Regions from separate parts of the Homo sapiens genome. Here region 2 is linked to region 1. The links are contacts of gene promoters, found by promoter capture Hi-C in human tissues and cell types (Jung and others, 2019). All regions are on one chromosome and are shown on one strand. The core of a region is centred on a gene start or on the middle of the fragment in contact, and the rest is flanking DNA. Distances in the headings are between cores, read along the strand shown.

The links. Contacts are between HindIII fragments. The study calls those that stand out against the background at their distance.
Region 2: a contact is called between a fragment that was not itself captured here and the fragment with the promoter of LAD1 in region 1, in 1 of the 25 tissues and cell types used here (IMR-90 fibroblasts).

Annotation. Positions count from the first base shown.
Region 1 is chr1:201,396,342-201,403,486 of GRCh38, reverse strand. It overlaps LAD1 (ladinin 1), which reads left to right and starts at 4,163. Exons shown (of 10, transcript NM_005558.4): 1 at 4,163-4,218. The coding sequence starts at 4,181. LOC101929343 (a long non-coding RNA gene) reads right to left here and starts at 3,996. Exons shown (of 2, transcript XR_241172.3): 1 at 3,697-3,996; 2 at 1-2,694. RefSeq lists an enhancer at 3,805-4,467. The HindIII fragment of the contact is 11,842 bases long and covers 1-7,145 here.
Region 2 is chr1:201,141,455-201,148,599 of GRCh38, reverse strand. It overlaps TMEM9 (transmembrane protein 9), which reads left to right. Exons shown (of 5, transcript NM_001288565.2): 3 at 1,752-1,860; 4 at 4,649-4,780. Among named protein-coding and RNA genes, the nearest start is that of TMEM9, 9.4 kb to the left of the region's middle. The HindIII fragment of the contact is 5,250 bases long and covers 1-5,175 here.

The sequences.
Region 1 (7,145 bases), core at 2,914-5,413:
TTGTACCACTTACACTCCCATCAACAACTATGACAGTTGCTGATGCTCCACATCCTGGTTTTGGCAGATCCTGGAGACCAGAGATCCTGGATACTTAACCTCACCTGATCTCAGCTTCTTCCTGACTCAGCTTCCAAATGTTACTCTTGGCAGGGGCTCTCAGGCTATTTGGGTTTTCCTGTTCTTTCCAAATCAAGTTAGTGCAATTCTCTAAACCTTTATTAAGCACCAACTCTGCCAGGCATAGTATTGAGGGGATACTGAGGCAAATAAGACATTCTTTTTCTTCTCAAGGCACCCACAAGATGCTTGGGGAGCCAGGGCATGGGCACAGATAACTTGAACTCCAACCTCGCTGCTCACAAGGAGTCATTCCCTCCTCCTTCCTACTCAGCAAGGGCCCTTGCATGCTATGGAAAACACAATGCAAAGCTGTCTCCTGAGCTCCCCCGCTCCAACACCCAACCATCTATTGGGCAGCTCCATCCGGCTGTCTTCAGGGATGTTAAATTCAAATGAGTAGAGGCCAAGGATGCTGGTGACCATCTCACAATGCACAGACAGCCCCCGACAAGGAATTATCAGGCTGAAATGGCCATAATGCTGAGGCTGAGAAACCCTCGGTGGTCTAAAGTCACCCCTCCCTAGATCTCCTGCTCTCACATCCCTGTCTCATCAATGGCATCTCATTCACCCAGTCCCTCCAGCAGGGAGATGGGAGTCACCTAGATTTCTCCTCCCTCACAAGCCGTAGTCAATCAACTCAGTCCTGGCCATCCAGCCTTCCAAAACTCCTGCCAACACCTTCTCCTCCCCATCCTCCTGGTGCCCTTGCTCAGGGCCTTCATTTCTTTTGTTGACTATAAAAAATAGCCCCCTAAGCTGTCTCCCTTCCAGTGTGATCTCTTGCCACACTGCCTCCAAACCCTTCTCATTTTCTATATTCAACTTAATTCTACAGGATAAAGGCTTTTTTTTTTTTTTGAGACAGAGTCTTGCTCTGTTGCCAAGGCTGGAGTGCAGTGCAGTTCAGTGGTGTGATCTTGGCACACTGCAATCTCTGCCTCCTAGGTTCAAGTGATTCTTTTGCCTCAGCCTCCCAAATAGCTGGGATTACAGATGTGTGCCACCACGCCCAGCTCATTTTTTGTATTTTTAGTAGAGATGGGGTTTTGCCATGTTGCCCAGGCTGGTCTTGAACTCCTGACCTCAAGTGATCTGCCCGCCTCAGCCTCCTAAAATGCTGGGATTACACGTGTGAGTCTCCATAACCGGCCAAGGCTGACTGACTCTTTAGCACAACACACAAAGTCCTTACTACCTGTCTCCAACCTTTCTTTTCAGCCTTGGAAGGGGCTCAATGCTTCACGCAGACTAGTCTTCTCTCTGTTCCACACACACCTTTCATGTTTATGTCCCAATGTCTTTGTTTATGCTGTGTCCTATAGCTGGATGCCCTTACACCCTTTCTGACAGTTGAATTCCACTTACCCTTCAAGGCCCAACTTAGATGTTCTTTCTTGTGTGAAGACTTCCCCAATCCCTCCTGATGACACAATTTCCATTTTTAATCACAGTCTGACTTGAATGAGGCTCGGGGTATATGTGTGCTTGTGTATGTGTGTGTGTTCACCAGCATGTGTTTGTCTTCACTGATAGACTGAGAATGTCCTGAGGTCAGGAACCGAGTCCTTATCATCTTTGTGTCACTGAATGTCAAAGCCACTTGTGATTATAGTGGGTAGAATGAATTATAATGGGTAGAACACATCCCAAAAAAGATGTGTTCAATTCATAACTTCTGGTACCTGTGAATGTGACCTCATTTGGAAATAGGGTATTTGCAGGCATAATCAAGCTAAAATGAGGTCATACTAAATTAGGGTGGAGGGATACTTGAACACAAACAAGAGACACAGGCAGAATGCTGTGTGACAAGAGAGGCAAATCTTGGAGTAATGCAGCTGTATGCCAAGGAGCTCTGGGAAGAAGCAAGGAAGGATTCTCCTCTGGAGCCTTTGGAGAGAGGCTGGCTGTGCTCACATCTTCATGGCAGACTTCTAACCTTCAGAACTGTGAGAGAGTAAACTTCTGTTGTTTAAAGCCATCCAGTTTGTGGCACTTCATCACGGGAGCCCCGGGAAATGGATGCACTGATCCAGCACCAAGTACAGTAGCTGGCACTTAGAAAGTATCCCATAAATGTACAGTGTCTGATCTCAAGGAACTTTCTGGGCATTGACATATATGTCATTCACTTTTCCTTACTTCTAGGGTTGTCTGCATACAAACTTTCCATGTCTTTGGGCTTTTATATCTGTAGAGAGGCTGTTAGATTTTGGGCTTTTAGAAACAGGACTGTTCCTGCCTTCGTGAAGTGTCCCTGGCATGACCAGGCTTCAGATGACTTCATAGGAGTATTTCTCTTCCTGTGTTGAGGTGTCAGCACTGACCAGCCATGGGAAGAACATTCAGTAGGTCCCTAGGGAGACAGCAGCTTCCCTGACAGTGTCAGGCCCCGGGTCAGAGGATCCAGGGACCTAGACTATTGGGGTCCCCTCTTTCTCTTTTCCTGTAAGCAGCATACAGCTCCAGGGCCTGCCTTGGCCTCTGTTCAGAACTCCCTGGAGCCTTGTCGATATTCATCTGTGCACTCCAATGTCACTAGCAGGGAACTCATATGATTTCCACAACCTGGAAGGAAGCAGAGCAAGGTATCGTAACATCCACTCCACAGATAAGGAAACTGAAGGAGTTTGTCCCAAGTCACACAGTTCACAAATGTCAGAATCAGAGCTCAAGTGTGCAAGTTACCAGTCCAGTTCTCATGTCCTGGACCTCGTCCCACCCTTGCCAAGAAGGAAGGCTCCCTGGAGGAGGGGGTACTTCGGGAGGGGGAATCTCAACAGGCTGGCTGTGTCTGTGTTTCCAGGCTTCTGCCCGGCAGCTAGCTTGCCCTTTGCCGTGAGATCTCAGAGCTGGAAGGCCTGACATGAGCACCAAAGAGAGGCTGAGGCTGGGCAGCGAGGCCCAGGAGCATGAGGGCAGTTCTGGCTCTGGCTCAGGCTCCCTTTTGATATTCTCATCCTGGCGCTGGGGCTGTGCCTCCTTCCTCTCAGGGCAGGAACAGCAACTGTGCGCTGACCCTGCAGTTCAGATCCATCAGGGAAGATAAGATTCCCCATGCTCAACGCCTGACCCTCTCTTAGCCCAAGCCCACCTGAGGCTGGTTCCTGGATAGAAAGCACCTGGCCCCGCACCAGCCCAGATGGGCACCTAAAGGGAGCCAGGTGGTGTCAGGGGTGCCTGAGCTGTCTCACGGTGCTCCAAAATTCGAGTCCTAGATATCTGTGTTTAATCTTTCCTTGGGGAAGAAAAACTGAGCTTCCTCTGCCCTTATTATACACCCTGCCACTCTAGCCCAAAGTCCAGTATCAGGGAGCAAGGACAGTGCCTTTGACATATTTGTGCTTTCACAAATGTTTGCTGAATTGAGTCTAAGATTCTCCCTTTGGGTGGGGCTGGGTCTACCAGGGGCATGTTTTGTGTGCAGCTCAGAAAGCAATGCCTCATTCATCTCAGCGAGGCCTACTGGGACGGTGGGCCCGGGTGGGTTCCGAAGCCAGGGAGTGGGGAGGGCGCTCCCTGCGAAGGGGCCCCGAAGGCGCGGGCGCTCTAGACCCGAGATCACAGTACCTGCGCTAACTTTTCCGCTCGGCTTCTTGCTCTTGAGCGTCTCCGGGCTAAGTCGGGTTCCCGGCAGGGGTCCCCGCCCCCAGCCCAGCTCCTCGGCACCCCGGGCCGCGGCACAGCGCGGGGAGGCGTCCCAGCGCCAAGCTGGTCGGACTGGTTCTGAGCAGGAAGTCTCCCGCCCTCGCCCCGGGCAGCCGACCAGCCCCACGCCGGCCCCGGGCGTCCGTCGTTCGGTCCCGCGATCCGTCCGACGGTCCACCCAGTGCTTGCGGCCTCGCGGCCGGGCCGGCCTGGGCTGCAATCAATGCGGCTTTGTCTGGGACGCCCACATCCCAGAGGCCATTCCCGGGTCGGCAAATCGGAGCGCGGCCGGGGCGCGCGGGGGTGAGATAAGCGGCCATGTGATCCCACCTGGGCTGGAAGGGGAGGGGCGCCAGGTGAGGCGGCGGCCGGCGGGGCGCGGGCGGCCACGCGGGGCTCCTGCAGCATGGCTGTCAGCAGGAAGGACTGGTCCGCGCTGTCCAGGTGAGCGCCGGAGGGAGCCGGGAGGGGCGGGGGGTCGGCGGGGAGCCTTTGGGTCTCCTCTCCTCGGGGCACCGGCCTCCTCCCCGCCTGGGACCCTGACACTGAGGCTGGATCCTGGTCTTGCTGCGACTCGCGGGAGACAGGATTGGGGCCAAACTCGGGACCCCTGAGGTTACAGGGTGGGTCTTCTCCCCTCGGGGCCTGAGGCCCCACACAGGGTGCTTAGGGGAAGGCTGGTCCTCAGTCTGGACGCCCGCTGGGATATGGCCCCCCCTGTGGAAGGTGGAAGCAGGAAGGAACGTTTTGGGGGATTGTGGAGGTGTTCAGGAGTAACCTCCAAGCCTCATTCCTGAGAGAAGCCTCTCTCACTGCCCCCGTGTGTCTCTGGCGGAGAGGACCCCTGGGAGGTGTCCCACAGCCCCTCTTGGGAGGGGGAGCAGGGAGAGCCGTCTTGGAGGGGTCAGTGAAGAGGACTGGAGGGAAGCAGACCCGTCTCCCACTAAGGACGCTCAGAATCTCAGCATGGCATTTTGGGGTGGCATCTGGGCTGGGAACCTTAAGATAGTTGCCATCCCCATCTGTGCTGCTGCAATCTTTACTTGTACACTGGTCTCCTAAAGGGTCGGGGATGAGGCATCCTACCCCTGCCTGCTGGACATCCCATCAGGGTCCGAGAGGCCTGGGGAAGGCGGGTGTTCAGAAGGCAGCACCCCTCATGGAGATTGGTGACCTCTAGCGACTTCTCTTGGAGCGACCCTGCACCTCTGCCAAGAAGGCCCCCTGTGAGCATTTTCACCTCATTCCTCCACTGGGCGCCCCCGTCCCCCATCTTGTCCCTAAGGAAACTGAGGCTCCTGCGGTAGCCCAGAGCTGGAGCCTGCTCTTTTGATCCCTTTCTAGCCAGGTAGATATTAGCCTCTTAGCTCCTCCCAGGTGGGCATTTGGGTCTTGGCCTTTCCTGAGCCAGGGCTATCTCTGCCAGGTGCAGACCCTCCAGCCATTTGGGTCCTGTAGGCTTTCCCCAGCAAGGCATCTTTCACAGGTTTTTCCAGTGCTCTAGTATGTCCTCTACCCCGCTCCTGCCCTCCCTTAATAAGGGCTCCAGAACTACCTCATTGTCTCAGGCTTAGCCTCTCCATAGCAGCTCATCGCCTGGGACTGGGGGGCCACCTCCCCAGACCCTCAAGACCTCACAGTGCTCTGAAGCACTGTGGGCAGCCCATGGGCTCTAGAGAGGGGAAAAGGTAAGCCCCACGAATGGAGGGAACTCAGTGCTCTGGAAAAGAAACCCAGGCTGCTATAGAGGAAGGTCTATGCTGAGGGTGCGGCTGAGGAGTCAAGGTCTTGGACTTTGCATGTGGGTCAGTGTGCCTGGGGGTTGATGTGGGAGTGTCTTTGCTTCTAGATGTGGGCCTACCTGTGCCTATGAATGTATGCTTATGTGTGTGTGTGTGTGTGGCATACTTGTGGACAAGTGTGTTTATGGCCTATGAAGAGATGACACATCTGTGTGGGGAGCTGGTTCTTATGTTGCTGAGTCTTGAGTTTGTCAGTCTGCATATGTTCAGTTGAACTGTTTATTGAAGACCTCAGTACTGTGCATTGGGTTAAAAATACAAACCAGACACTCCTTCTTCAGAAGTTCATAGTCTGGTGGGATATATGTGATTTTGTGTCTGAAAGCATGCCTGGATATGCATGGGGGGGTGTGTGTGTGTGGGGAGGCAGCTGGGGCACTGGAACTTTGAAAATGGGAGCAAGGTCTGGCCTAAGCTTGTCCACTGCTCAGATGGACATGGACTCATGTGGCTACAGCCAAGTTCCCACAAGATGTCCAGGGTAAGTGCCAGGAAGCTCTGGGGAACAGTCCTGCCACAGGGGCCCCTGGCCTGCCCTCCCTGCCGGGTCCCAGCCCTCATAGAGCCCTGTGGGCAGACGCAGCTGCTGCCAACAGTCACCCTGATGAGGCACCTGGAACAGAGGACCGCTCCCGCTCCGCTCCCTGGGTGAACAAGCCTCAGCGGGCAGGCAGGAAAGGGCTGTGAGTCACTGTCAACAGAGCCTCCTGGGCTGGGGAGGACCGTGCTAGGGTGTGACAGCACGGTCCCAGGTGGGGAGGTGGATGGAGAGGTGGGTGGGTAGCTGGGGGCCAGCCTGCAGCCCATCCTTGGCATGGAGCAGAGATTCAAGTCTTCCAACCCTGGGATTGGGGGGGCAGTGGTGAGCTGGCTGGCTGGGTGCCCTGGTCAGAGGCCTTGTCCTTTTCTCCCCGGACTGGCCTGGTGACCAGTGAGGCTGGGCCAGGCCTGTCTGCAGGGGGTGAGGGGTGGATCTGAGAGTGCCTGGGACTGAACAGCCAGTGGTTAATCATTTCCCTGCCTGGGCCTTGAGCCGCCCTCCTACTTCCAATCGCTGCCCTGGGTTCTCCAGACACCTCTCCCTAGACCTTTGGGGCTGGAAGAGACCTGAGTTACCCCCCACAGTGACCATGCAGAAGGGGAACTTAAGGCCTGCCCTGCTCAGGTGCAGGAGACTGGCCAAGGTCATGGGCATGATCCCCCAACCCTCCTCTGTCCTCCCTTCCCTAACCCCAGTCCCCAAGATTTGCAAATTATGCTCCTTGAGCCCCAGGGTTCCACAAAATGCATCTGGGGCAGCCTTCTCACCCTCTCCCAGCTTTAAGCAGGGCAGCTGAGCCTTAATCTGTTGTATAATGGGCTTCTGTCTATGATTCAATTTGGGAAAATGGCTTGTACTGCTAAATATGACTTTTAACAACCACTTCACTTAAATCCCTGCCATCAGTTGCTGCAGAATAGATGGAAGTTAGACTTCAGGAAGAAAGTTCCCAGGGTAGAGGTCAAAACAAGCTCTCTAGTGAGTAACGGCAGAATGTCCTTTAGAATTATTTAAGAGAAAAAGAGGAT
Region 2 (7,145 bases), core at 1,301-3,800, 250 kb after region 1:
GAGCTGGAAGGGCCTTTTAAAGATTATCCGGTGCAACCGCTTTATCTCAAAGAGAAGAGAACGGGCCCAGGGTATAGACACTTGGTGGCAGAGCCAGGACAGAGCCCAGGTGCATTGCAGCATGACACCTGCTTCACCTCTGCACACCTCCAAGGGGTTTGGATTTTTCCATTGGTAGTAATGAAGGTGCATTCTGTAGAGTTTTTTGCTTTGTCAGTGTGGTCCCTGAACCAAACAGGTTGGAACCATGCTGATCTGAGGAAGGCTGGGAATGAGAGGCCTGAGACAAGCCAGGTACCAGCCCAGGCCCCACTGAGGCTGAGTCAGAAGTAAAGACCTGTGGCTGAGGGTCTAGATTTGGGTTCTGGCCTCACTACCACTATGGAGATGCCACTTTGCCTCCTAAGCCTCTTTCCCTGTTTTTAGATGTGGAACCTATGATCTTTATCCCACCTTACGCAAGAGTGCTGTTAGATGAAAGTGGGTCTACTCTTCCTTTGGGAATCATGTAGTTACTAAGCCTGCTCTGGCCAGCACCCAGCTAGGTACTGGGAATATGGAGATGTATAAGACATAACCCTGTGTTCAAGGAACGTACATCTCCTGGGGAGACAGCACGAATAAAGATTGGATTACAATGCAGTGCATTGGCGGGGGGTTGGGGGGAGCTGGCTATTGGGCACAGGTGGCTAAGCTGAGAGTTAAAAGATGAGGTGGCAAAGCCATGCCCTCCTGGTGAGAGTGTGGGTGTGGCTCCTTCAGAGAGCAGCCTGGCAGATCCGTGTGGCTGGAGGTTGGGAAAGTGGGTGAGGGAGGCGTAGCAAGAGATGGAACTGGAGTGAGGTGGGTTGGGACCCCTGGCAGAGCAATTGAGTTAGCATTGGCCCTAGGGGCTCTGTGGAGGCACTGACCGGGCCTAAGCTGGGGAATGACATGACCAGAGTTGCATTCTGGAAAACCACTTGGCTGCCGTGGGAAGGTAGTATGTGTTAGAAAGGCCAAACTCGAGGCAGGAGGGCAGCGCGGAGGCTGGTGCGGTTGTCCGAGGAAGATAGGATGAGGGCCTCAGCTAAGACACAGCAGTGGGAGAGAATAAAGGAGATGGATTCTAGGAATTTTTAGGGAAGTAAAATCACTGGCCTTTGGTGATTTTACTTAGATGAGAGGAAGGCAGTGTCAAAGATGATTTCCAGGGTTTGACCCGGACAGTGAAGTGGACGGTAGAAGTGTTCTCTCTGCCATTGCAAATGGGGAGCCAGTTTGCAGGAGTAGGGAGTTGAGGGCAAAGGGTGTGCAGGGGCGGGTGTAGAGTTCATGGTCTCTATGGGACATGCACATAGTGACTCCTGTAGCTCATAGAGGAGAGCGGCCCTGGCTGGAGATTCTGATCTAAGATCCGTCAGCTTCTGAGTTGAACCTTTGGGACAGATGAGCACATGCCGGGAGAACATAGCATGAGATGAGGAAGGCGGCTGGGGGTAGAACCCTGGGAACGTTGATGGTTTTGGAGCCAGCCCTGTAGGCAGTTTGGAGAGCTGGTTTTGATGTGTAAGGGGCATGGGCTGTGAGGCTGTGGGTTAGGAAGGGTTTCTGCCAGCCTAATCCTTTATAAGCCCTTGGCCCTCTCTGGGAGCACCCTTCACCTTTGCCTAGCCCCTACCTCTCAGCTCCCCTGGCTACCTGCTTCTCTGGTCTTGAGGCTCTAAGACGTGGTGGCCCTGCCTCGACAGCCCTGTCTCTCTCTGTTGTAGCAACTGCCTGCACGTGGTGGAGCCCATGCCAGTGCCTGGCCATGACGTGGAGGCCTACTGCCTGCTGTGCGAGTGCAGGTACGAGGAGCGCAGCACCACCACCATCAAGGTAACGCCAGGGTCTCAGGAAGCCAGTGGGATTCCCACACGCCATTCTCCAATCGCAGACTGGCCTACACCCACAGTTTTTCACTTTATTCTGGAATGTCCCAATGGCTATGAGACTGGCTTCTAGGCTGGCCTAGTGCAGACACTGGGACCCACATCCCACACCTTCCTGGAGCCAGCTCCCTTCTCTGCTCTCTTTCCAGTAGTTACCATTACAGTGAGAGGGGAGAGCCCTGGGAGAGCTGCTGGAGACTCCTTTTTCCCTGCATTCTTTACAGTTTATTTCGTTCCTCTCCCTTCTTCTATTCATCCAGTAAATCTCTTTTCGGTGCCTGCTATATTCTGGGCAAGATGCTGCCAATGGGGAGGTTGGGCTGCCCTCCTGGAGCTTAGTCTAATTAAGCTTCCAAAGTGACTAAGCTCCTCTAAAAAGCATCAGAGCTGTGGACTAGGGCTGGGTGTTGGGTGCTGGGAGAACATCAGATTGGTTCTTTTGTGTTTTCCTGAACCACCTTCTCATTGATCATTTGGGTGAATTCAGGAAAGAGATGATAGACACAGTCACCACCATAGACGTCACGAGGTGTCTGTTCATTCCTGCACCAGGCAGAACTTCCCGTGTCTTCTAGAGGCTGTGAAGCCGCCCTAGCAGAGACCGTCATGACCCCCAGCCCCCCAGTGCGGCTTCCTAGTCCAGGTTCTAACAATCCTGGGCCAGGCACCTGGCACACACAGTACTCACTGATTACATAGCCATTTCTTTTTTTGTTTGTTTTTTAGAGACTGGGTCTGACTCTGTTGCCTATGCTGTAGTCCAGTGGCACGATCACAGCTCACTGCAGCTCTGACCTCCCAGGCCCATGCAACCCTCCCACCTCAGCCTCCTGATTAGCTAGGACCACAGGTGCACATCACCACACCCAGCTAATTTTTTAAATTTTTGGTAGAGACAGGGTCTCACTGTCTTGCCCAGGCTTGTCTCGAACTCCTGGCCTCAAGCACTGCTCCAGCCTTGGCTTCCCGAAGTGCTGGGATTATAGGTGTGAGCTCCATGCCTGGCCTAATGTAGCCCTTTCTGTTCCAGTTTGTAGCATTTTTCTGCTTGTCCTTTGAAGAGTCTATAAATAGCATTGGAAAATAATTCTCATATTTAAAGGCACTGCTGGGTCCTCCATCAGGTTTCTCCTTTCGAGGCACATTTAGGGGGCGGTGGTCTTCACTGCTGTCCTTCCTGCCTATTCCAGGGAGCCCTGTGCTGTAGCTCCTCTGTGTTCTCACCACTCAGGGAAAAAGCAGCTGTCTGTCCTTCACTCCCAGCCAGTGCCCTGTGCAGACCCAACTCCTTTCATCCACCTGAGGCAGCCCCTCCTGCAACTGTCATTCTCCTTCTCTGAACTTGCTCCAGTGGGCCTCACCCTCCAGGGACCAGATGCCTGAGACCTGAAATTCAGAGCCAGATGTCACCGCTGCTCCCTGTTTGGCCGGGAGGGAACTTCCTGGCATGGGGACCTCATCAGATACAACTTCCTAATCCCTCGTGTTTCCCCCAGTCCTCCTACCTAGGAGGCTCCCCTCAACTTCAGCCTATTGAAGACCCAGCCTCTGTTCTCCTTCCGCCTTCCTGGGGTACAGGTGAGGTCTGATTATTTGCCCTGTTTAAACAGGCGTGAACGCGGTGCCCCAATCAGGTGGGACATTGGTCCAGTGGAACTTGGCTATTGGCTGAGCGGGGCACCCAGCTTGAAAGTCCTGAGGTTCTTTTTTTCACTCTTCTTCACAGTCTAGGTAGGGCAGGGCTGAGATCAGAAGCCGGCAATGGCCAGGCATTGTGGAATTAGGAAAAGCATTTGAGAGGGAGTCAGCAAGTCTGGGTTTGAGTCACACCTCCACCATCTGGTAGCCTTGGGATCACAGGTGATCTAGCCCAGCAGTTCTCAATCAGATGATTACAGCCCCCCCAGGGGGCATTTAGAGGTGGGTGAAGGTGCTTTTGTGGTCCCAATAACAGGTGTATTACCAACACTGTTACAGGGACCATGGATGCTAAATGTCCCACCCAAAATCCCAGAGCACCCACATTGAGAAACATTGAATTTGCCTCATTAAATCTGTCTTTTCTGTAAAAACAAAATGACTCCAGCTTGTGAAGCACTGTGTATGTAAGAGATTCGTGGAGTTGTTGTTCTACCCTTGGCTTTCCCCTCCCTGCAGAGGGGCTGATGGGAGGGCAGGCGTGACCTTCACCCCCAGCACACACCTTCTTACCAGCCCTAGCCACTCTGCTCAGGGGCATGCCATGAGTGGGCCAGCGCGCCCCATCCGTCTTGCTCTCCACAGGAGCAATGAGCCCACCAGCCCAGGTTTACTTTTCCTGGCCCCAGCTTTCCAGCCTCTCCACAGCCTGTTCTTCCTTGCTCTTAGTTTCTGATTGCTTTCCACCCTTCATCATGAACTCTTCTACAGCCAGGGAGGCCCTTGTGTTCCCATCTCTACCCCGGGAGCCTCTCGGCATCAGGCTCCAGACTTCTTCCTCTGTCATCTGCCTGCTGTCGTGATGCCTGCTGTGCAGACTCCCTCAAGTTAGGACAGAGTGCTTCCTCTGTGGAGTAGGGCCCTCCCTTTCCTTTCTGGGCATGCTTTCCCTCTGAGCCCACGTTGCCTCCAAGTCCTTTCTTAGTGCACCACTTGAGGAGTCACTGCCAGCCGGACACAGATGGCCCAAGACTAGCAACGGATTTCTAGCCCTGGCCTCAGATAATGGTTCATAGGCACGCCGGTCTCTTCCTCAGGTCATCATTGTCATCTACCTGTCCGTGGTGGGTGCCCTGTTGCTCTACATGGCCTTCCTGATGCTGGTGGACCCTCTGATCCGAAAGCCGGATGCATATACTGAGCAACTGCACAATGAGGAGGAGAATGAGGTAAGAGGGCTTTGAGTGCCCAGGCCCTGGGTCCCTGCATGTGCGTCCCCAGGGCAAAACCCAGAGGAGCGTCACCTAGGTCCAGGTCCCACCTCCCCAAAATGCTTCAAGTTGCTCTTCTGGTCAGTGTCGTACACATCACCCAGACTCAGCAGGGACCTGCTCTTTGCCCTTCCAGATGAAGCAGGACACCGGGCATCAAGCAGTCTCCATGTACAAGCCGGGGGAGCCATGTCATCCTGCTGTACTGTGCTTCCAGGCAGAGGGGGCGCAGCCAGCCAGAGCCAGTCACACATAGATACACATGATATCCCCCGTGTGCTCAGACATTGGTGACAAGCTGCTGGTGGACTGGACGGCAGCAGGTTAATTTGTTTGTCCAGTGATTCCACAAACATCTGTTGAACACTTGCTCAATGCAAACCAGAGCTCCAGGGTCTGGGGAGAAATGTAGGATTTCAAGAGCGGAAGAGGAATGAGACAGTGGTGCCGGGCAGGGGACATTGCCAAGTATGTGTGAGGAATTTTGAGCGTTGCAAGGATAGGGTAGAGATGTTTGAATAGTGGCAAAGAGAGCTGGCCAGTAGATTTAGGTCACATTATTAAAAGTCCCAAATGTCAAGCTAAGGGGGTTTGGCTTTATCTGACAAGGAAAGTGGGGAACCACTGACCCCAGACAGCCTGCAAGGCCTCCAGGAGTTCATGCAATGGTGGGGAGCTGGCAGGGCTTGGACCAGGCCCAGTGCAGTTAACAAGCGCTGTCACCGTCTTCCCATTCATCCTCATACTAAAAAGTTGTGGACACCATGGCGAGGAAACCCGGGGGGACAGGAGGGCTCAGGTGAAGGGCTCTTCGTGGGAGTGAGACGTGGTGTACCTCCATGCTGAGCAGAGTTGTGATGAGCCCTGCACTCCCCAGGTGGTCTAGGGGAATCTTGCCTGAGTGAGGACTGCACAGCCCCGTGTGCCTCGGGCTCCCCCTTTATGCGCTCATGTACCAGCTAGCTGGGTGCATGAGACAGCAGAGCGGGCTGCTTAGAGGCGTGGAGCCAAGGCAGGCGGGGTTGGCTGCTGCTTCCACTCTGAGCTCTGTCCCCAGGGCCTTGCTGCTGGAAGATACTCCTGTTTATTGACTGATGGAGGGATGCCCTGAGTGAACTCATGCGTATGCATAAGGAATATCTAGTCGGGAAGCGCCTCAGCTAGGCCTCAGAGAATTAGTTGAAGAAACTGAGAGTCATTTAGCTTAAAGGAAAAGAAAAACAACTAAAGGAGACGCATGATAGCTGCCTTCAGAAGTTTGTAGAAGACAGCTTGGCTTCATCCAGGGACAGAGAGATTTAACACAATATGAGGAGGAGGCTGGGAGTCTTCCTGTAGACAGCGTGGTCTAACTATGGGGTAGGTGGGCTGGGCTCCCTTGCAAGACCATGAGCCAGTTCCTCACCAAAAAGAGGACCCAGGGGCTCAAGTCTAAGTGTGAAGCTGCCTGGGTGATGTGGGTCTGGGCCAGCATGAACAGCGAAGAGAAGGGCAGATCAGGGAGGGAGCCTGGCTGCTCTCGAGGGCTGTGTTGCCCCACCCTGCGCACATGCCTGGACTGCTCCCAGTTTGCCCCCAGCCTCCTGCTGACATGAGTTTGGCCGAAGGTGGAGCAGAGGGGATGAGCCTCGCCCCATTGGAGCTAGGGCCTGGGAGGTGGTGGCACTGGCAGTTGGGTGGTCTGTGTTCAAGAGGAAACCTCGTGTGCCTACCTGGTTATTAATGTAGAGTAATAGCAGCTCTGATAGGGGAGGAGCATCGCTAATAAACACTCAGCGATTAGGGGTAATGTGGTAATTGCAGTCCTGGCTGGGGTAGTAATTGAGAGATGCAGCCCAATGATTTCCGTGGAATGCATGGCTCTGGGGCATGGCCTTGTTATGTCTCCTGCCATCCTAGCCAGGGAGCCAGAGGGAGGGCAGCTTGGGGAGAGCAGCTTGCCGTCCCTGGGTATGAACCCAGGTCTCTCTTACCCCCAGGAGACCTGGAGTGCTCCTCATTTGAAGCCTGTTTGTATGAGGGGGCCTTGGGAGGAAGAAGGGCTAGATTTGGTAACTGTGGCAGGACTGCCTGGGAGGACAGTAGGCTGTGATAGGCTGCAGCACATAGAAGCTGGCGAGCCATGCTCCCTCCTGTAGGGGAAGTTGCGGCCCTGGGATGGACAGGATGACACGCCCTCACCTCTCACCTGAGGTTCTAAAAGCTCATAAAAAGTTGTGTTTAATCTCTTTGATACCCTGACCTAGGGTGCAGCCAACTCTCGCTGGTTGTGGCCTGGGGCAGGTAGATCTCATTGGGTGCCCTTGGCTGGGTAAGGAAGTGC